Regions from separate parts of the Homo sapiens genome. Here region 1 is linked to region 2. Evidence: promoter capture Hi-C in 16 types of primary human blood cells and fetal thymus (Javierre and others, 2016). All regions are on one chromosome and are shown on one strand. The core of a region is centred on a gene start or on the middle of the fragment in contact, and the rest is flanking DNA. Distances in the headings are between cores, read along the strand shown. Region 1 overlaps FLJ40288 (Putative uncharacterized protein FLJ40288). Region 2 holds the start of CHCHD3 (coiled-coil-helix-coiled-coil-helix domain containing 3).

The links. Contacts are between HindIII fragments. The CHiCAGO score rates a contact against its expected background, and 5 or more counts as called.
Region 1: a contact is called between a fragment that was not itself captured here and the fragment with the promoter of CHCHD3 in region 2, in 1 of 17 cell types (non-activated CD4 T cells). The highest score is 5.9, in non-activated CD4 T cells.

Annotation. Positions count from the first base shown.
Region 1 is chr7:132,652,277-132,655,619 of GRCh38, forward strand. The region is part of intron 1 of FLJ40288 (Putative uncharacterized protein FLJ40288); the gene reads left to right. Among named protein-coding and RNA genes, the nearest start is that of FLJ40288, 5.2 kb to the left of the region's middle. The HindIII fragment of the contact is 548 bases long and covers 1,556-2,103 here.
Region 2 is chr7:133,080,759-133,084,018 of GRCh38, forward strand. It overlaps CHCHD3 (coiled-coil-helix-coiled-coil-helix domain containing 3), which reads right to left and starts at 1,332. Exons shown (of 8, transcript NM_017812.4): 1 at 1,099-1,332. The coding sequence starts at 1,179. It also overlaps the pseudogene RNU6-92P. RefSeq lists enhancers at 1,065-1,699, 1,115-1,294, 1,505-1,614. The HindIII fragment of the contact is 4,501 bases long and covers 1-2,532 here.

The DNA.
Region 1 (3,343 bases), core at 580-3,079, 430 kb before region 2:
CTCTGATTTTTAATTTGGGTGGTGGCTTCAGCAGTGTGTGTTTCATTAGTATGCTTTATTTGTTACCTTGTTATATAGACTCTACATATATTTATTAATACACTTATTAAATATATATACTAAAATTTAAAATACTAAGAAAGAATGTGAGGGAAAGCCATCTCTGGTCCCAAATCTTATTATCTTCCCTGAAATACACTTGCCCTTTGGGGGCATGTTGAGATTGATTAAGGCCAGATAAATTCAAATTGTAAAATCATTGTTATTCATTCATTTAACAAAAATTATGGAGCATCTACCATGTGCCTGCCCTGAGGACTGGTCACTGAGCAGGACAAACTTGGCTCTTGCTCTCACTTCGACAGAGCTAAGACTCTAGGAGCTAACCTGAGTCCTGGAGAATGTCTCCTTTCTTCACTTCCTCTTGGGCAAGCAATCTCCATTTCCTTCCCCACAGTGCTGCTGTCTTCTGAAAAGAAGCAGTGGACAAGGGATAAGAACCTGTCTTGGGAGGAGCCAATCTCTTCTGGGGTCTAGAATCTGCCTCTCAAACAAATCTCACTTTGTAATTAGACTTTCTTTGGCCACTAGACTGTCCCCCAATATGGTTTGGCTGTGTCCCAACCCAAATCTCATTCTGAATTGTAGCTCCCACAATTCCCACATGTCATGGGAGGGACCCAGTGGGAGGTAACTCAATCTTGGGGGCGGATCTTTCCCATGATGTTTTTGGGATAGTGAATAAGTTTCACAAGATCTGATGGTTTTATACAGTGGAGTTCCCCTGCACATGCTCTCTCTTGCTTGCCACCATGTAAGATATGACTTTGTTCCTCCTTCATTTTCCACCATGATTGTGAGGCCTCCCCTCACAATGGTGAGGTGGAATGGTGAGTTTATTAAACCTCTTCCCTTTATAAATTACCCATTCTTAGCTATGTCTTTATTAGCAGCATGAGAACAGACTAATACGCCCCCCAAGTAATTAAAGCCTGTAGGCCTTTCTATACACCTGGCTGATGCCATCTGCTTAGACCACAACAGTCTGAATTTGGATCCTCGCACCATGGTTGAAATGTGAATGTAAATGGCTTGGAGCTATGTTTTTCACAAGTGCTGGTGTGTCACTTGTGTCCCGCCCTATGCTTCTCAACATCCTGGTGTGTTTAAGTGACTTGCTCACTCCTGAACACCTGGTCTCCCTCGACGTGCCAGGGCCCTCAGTCCCTGCTTGCTTGCTACGTGCTATCAGAGTCTGATGACACCTGGCCAGTCCTATATAAAGGGGAAGTGGTGACTGATGGCCTTGCTCTGCCCAAGCTGCTGCTGTGAAACCTGCCTGGAAGACACTGACAGCAGCTCTAGCCCTCCCTTGTGCTAAGGAGAAAGGCTCCAGCTCTCTAAGAGCAGTGACTATAGGAACAACAGCTCACCCCTTCTGTCAGCTGAGCTATCCCCAGCCTGGAGAGGTGAGATGCCACCTCTGCTAACTTCCTTTTTTGGCTAGGAATATCCATTTTCTTCCTCATTGAGTCTGAGGAGGTAGCACTAGAAAAGCTTACTTATGCTTTTATCATTCAGATCTCTGGGTAAATTCTTACTCACCCAGAGACAAAAAGAACCTGCTCTAAGCTCCATCTTAGGTGCAAAAATTAGGTACAAGCAGAAAAAGAGAAGTCTGAAACATGGGTCTGCCTGAGAAGATGGTGGAAGGGGATTGCAAGTAGAGACTGACAGCCCCAAAAACTTGGAGAGACCCCCCCAGACAAGTCAATCAGAAGTGCCCAGAGTAACCTTCCCATAGAATTTTCTGCCACAATGGAAATGCTCTGTGACTTTATGTCCAATATGGTAGCCATGAGCCATGTGTGTGTCTCTGGAGCACCTGAAATGTAGTTAGTGTGACCAAGAAACTGAGTTTCTAATTTTGTTTGATTTGAGTTAGTTTGAATCTGAAGAGCCACATATGTATTACTGTATTAGACAGAAAGCTCTAGAAAAACGCTAAACTGAAAAAAAAAATTGAGGGTTGTCAGTGAGGGACAACCACCACTAGAGGCTTTCAGCAGGTTCTGAGCCAAGTTTAGAAATTTGCATGGGCCAAGCTTCAGCAGGCCAGGGGAAGTGGAGTTTCTACCTGAAGCTGAGGGGAAATCCAGCTCCATCTCCACGAAAATAGTATTTTCTAGGTACCGAGAGAAGAGGTTAAAGATAGATGTAAAGAAGCCATCACTGTGTTGTTTATTATAACCCAAACACTGGAAGTAATAGGATCAATACAATAAAAACTGCTGAGCACATATGATGGAACATTACACGAACATTAAAAATCATGTTTTTAAAAATTATTTGGTCACATAAGTGAAAAAATAGAATATGAAAAATATATATACATCATGATCAAAATTTCATGGAGGTAAATACATTATGTATACATGTATAGAAAACAGCTTAGAATGAAATATACTAAATTATCAACAGGAGTCATTTCTAGGTGGTAAAATTTTGAATACTTTTACTTATGTTTTATATTTTTTGCATATTTCCAAATTCTCTGTAATGGTCATTTGTTATTTTATACCAAAAAAAGTCCTATTTAAAGGATGTTCTAAAGAGCTTTTAATAGTGTAGCAAATGCAACTTATTGATAAGCAAACAAAGCAAGATATGATATTGTACATGTAAGTTCTATCATAAGTACATAAACCATATGTGGAGAAAACATTGGAATGTTTGCAATGCTCTCGTGAAATTACATACCTTTCTACTACAGTACTCTTTTCTATAGCCATCTTTTCTGCAATTAGATGTGTATTATTTTCTAACACAGAGGTGGAGAACTCCAACTCATCTGGATGAATCTCCAACCCCAAATATTTAAACAAGCATGTTCAGGCCCTTCCCCCAACCCTGGGTAGACTTGAGCCTTGCTCCTCCCACAGCGTCTTGGGGACACAGTGGCAGTTTCTTGCCCAGCACCCTCGGTGGGCTCCTGACACTCCTAGTGCCGAAATGGATGGCTACTCACCCTTTGGGGCTGACCCTTTCTCCTCCATCCCCTCCCACTCCATTACCACAGCGATTCATTGAAAGAGATCAATAATTATGAAAAACAATTGATTTTCTACTCCCCTCCACCCCCTTCTTTCTCTGAGTAAGTCTGTCTGACATGCATAACGGGAATCAAACCAGAGAGGAAGTGCTGCGGCTTCCCTGGTGGGACATTGTGCTCTCTCTCCCTCTCGGAGGGCCCCTCCCTCTGCACTTTCAGCGATTTCAAGATCCGCACATTACTCTTTATCAACTTGGCAGATGCTATTGCCTCTTCCGGCTCACAAGCTTC
Region 2 (3,260 bases), core at 82-2,581:
AGTTTAATAAATTATTCTCAAGGTAACAGTTTCAGAAGAAAAAGTTTTTAAACATTTTAAATATTTAAGAAGTTTTATTTCCTGGTAACAACTGTTAAAAATAATTTACAAATGTAATTTATTTACGCTGGTTGATAACAGAAAAAAATATATAAATTATTATAAAACTTTCTGAAGTCAAAATTGCTTTATTTACTAGGTTCAGGCATCATACGTCCAAAAATGTGAGGCTCCAAATTCAGGCGCAGCGGAGAGTGTGTTAATGAAGTTAGTGCTGGTATACTGACACCCTAGAGAAAAACCAGGTTTTCAGTTTATGTATCAGGTGCATGCAAAGGGCATTAAAAAAAAAGTGCTCTACAACGTTGGTCAGAAATGACTACATTACTTCTACTGGTATGAAAAACTGCAAACCCATCTCAGCCCCTATCAGACTGGCAGACACTAGTCCTGAAGCAACTGGGCCTAATCCAAAACTTCGGCGCAGCAGGTCACAGAGGAGGCGCCTGGGAAAGAGGAGATATCAAGTGAAAGTGAAGCAGGGAGAAGCCAGAAGCCGCCCCAGGCAGGTCAGAAAAGACTGTGGGGCTGGGAGGGAGGATGACAGGGTGTGGGGAGTGGGTGGGAGGAGGGGGTGTTATCAGAGGGAGAGCACTAAATGACACAAAGCAAAGGCAATCCTTAAAATGCCAATTCACCCTGGGAGACAGGGTGTGCACAGTGGAAAAGCAGGGTTTGGGTCCTGAACCCAGGAAAACCATTTCACAGACAAGTACACCGAGGTATGGGTTTCAAATACGGTCCTGCAACAAGGGAGCAGTACAGTTACGAGTAGACTGTGAGCCCTTGCAGGGTATAATTCAACCTGGCATTCCCCGCCCGCCCCAGCAGTGCCTAGCACTTGGCACAACCAGGAACTATCTCTGAATGAATGTCCCACGTCTTGAAACTCTAGGCTTCTTCCCAGACACCTGGGCTTCTGGCCTTAATACGCTAGGGTCCAGGACGGGAGAAACCCAGGCTGAGCGGGTCCGGAGAAGATGGGGCCTTGGGGTCCGAGTCCAACCACTGGCCCTCCGCCCGTCCACGGGCACTCACCCGGATGCCCTTCACCACGGTGATGTTCTCATTCTCGTCCGCCTCGAAGGTGACCCGGCGGGTGCTGGTGGTCCCACCCATGATTCCGGTTCCTGCCCCAGCGGAGACCTAGCGGGGAACCACGAGCACTTCGGGGCCCCCGCACCCACACGCGCGTGGAAGGGCCTGGATTCTTTTCCCGCACAGCGGGAGCAAGGCCACGACCCCCAGAAGCAAGGAGAAGGCGCCGGTCCTGAGCTCCCGCCTCCTCCGGTCACGCGCCACAACAAAAACGCCTCAGGTTGGTCGGCGATGCGAACTGCCCGCCTCTGTTCGGCGAGGGCGCCCGGATTGGTTCACCCGACCCGGATGCTATGGCAACAGGTGGTGTTTGATAGCTTTCCGCGGAGTCCCTGGGTGTAGTGGGAACTGTGGTCTCGATCTGGCGCGGTGGGTGATGGGACATTCTCTCCCCGCGCCTGAGCGCGCTAAGGGAGCACGGCATTCTGGGAGTTGTGGTTTTGACTCCCCAGAGACGCCTAACTGGGCAACTTTTTGAAGACATAATTCTAGAAATTTAGGCCACTAAGTTCAGAGACACAATCTTTCTCTCAAAGGGACTCACAGTTTAATGAAAAAGATGCATGATACTAATGAAGCCATTCCTAGTGTTCTATACACAAATTCCTGGCTCAAAACTTAGCGTTTCATTACAGTCGTAGGGTAGCTTAATGAAGACTACTTCTGAGAAATGCCTCGTTAGGTGACCCTGTGATATCTGTGGTTGTGCAAACATCATAGAGTGTACTTACACAAACCCAGATGGTGTAGCCTACTACACACCTGGGCTACTTGGTGTAACCTATTGCTCCCAGGCTGCAAAGATGTACAGCATGTCACTGTACTAAATACTGTAGGCAATTGTAACACAGTGGTATTTGTGTGTACAAATATATGTAAACATAGAAAAGCTACAGCAAAAACAGTGTAAAAGTGATTGCTTTGGCAACACATCTAGGACAATTTGAACAATACAGAGATTAGCACAGCCCCTGAGCAAGGTTGACACATGAATTTCTGAAGCATTCCATTAAAAAAAAAATCAAAGATAAAAAATGGTATGCTTCTATAGGGCACTTACCATGAATGGAGCTTACAGGACTGGAAGTTGCCCTGAGTGAGTCAGTGAGTGAGTGGGGAGTTGAATGTGAAGGCCTGGGACGCAACTATGCAGTACTGTACCTTTTATCAACACTGTGCACTTAGGCAACACTAAATTTATTTTCATATATTTTCATTCTTCAAGAATAAATTGACCTTAGCTTACTGTAACTTTTTAAACTTATAAACTTCTTTTTTTGTGACTTTTTGACTCTTTAATAACACTTAGCTTAAAACACAAACACACTATATAGCTGTACAAAAATATTTCTTTCTTTATATACTTAGTCTATAAGCTTTTTCTATTTTTGAAATTATTTACTTTTTACTTTTTAAACATTTTTGTTAAAAATTAAGACAAACACACACACATTAGCCTAGACCTACACGGGGTCAGGATCATCAATATCACTGTCTTCCACCTTCACATCTTGTCCCACTGAAAGGTCTTCAGAGGCAATAACACGTATGGAGCTATCTCCTATGATAACAGCACCTTCTGTAACACCTCCTGAAGGACCTGCCTGAGGCTGTTTTACAGTTAACTTTTTTATATAGGTAGAAAGAATGCACTTTAACCTAAAGATAAAAAGCATAGTATAGTAAATACTAGGAGACAGGAATTTTCCAGCTCCATTATAATCTTATGATTCCACTGCCAGAAATGAGGTTCTTCTTTGACTGAAACACTGTTATGCAGTACATGAATGGTGGCATTTTAGTAGTAGCCATAAAATAAAAAAATAAAAAACGTAAACGTGTGTTTGGTCCATGTCTCTTGTCTCATGAACTAGTATCTGTATTTTTTTCTTTTTGTAAAGTAAAATTTTAAGTACTATGGTTTTCAAACCTGTCTATGAGAAAATACATTTCTTCATAGAATAAATTATTTGCACCAAGTATGTAGAGAATTTACTTTCCACTTTTGTGTCTCCTTCTACTACTAGTTCAGTTACATAAGTTAGGCCATAATAGGGTTAGGCAGAGAAAAGTTAAGTGATTGCCAAAGATGGCATAAATTA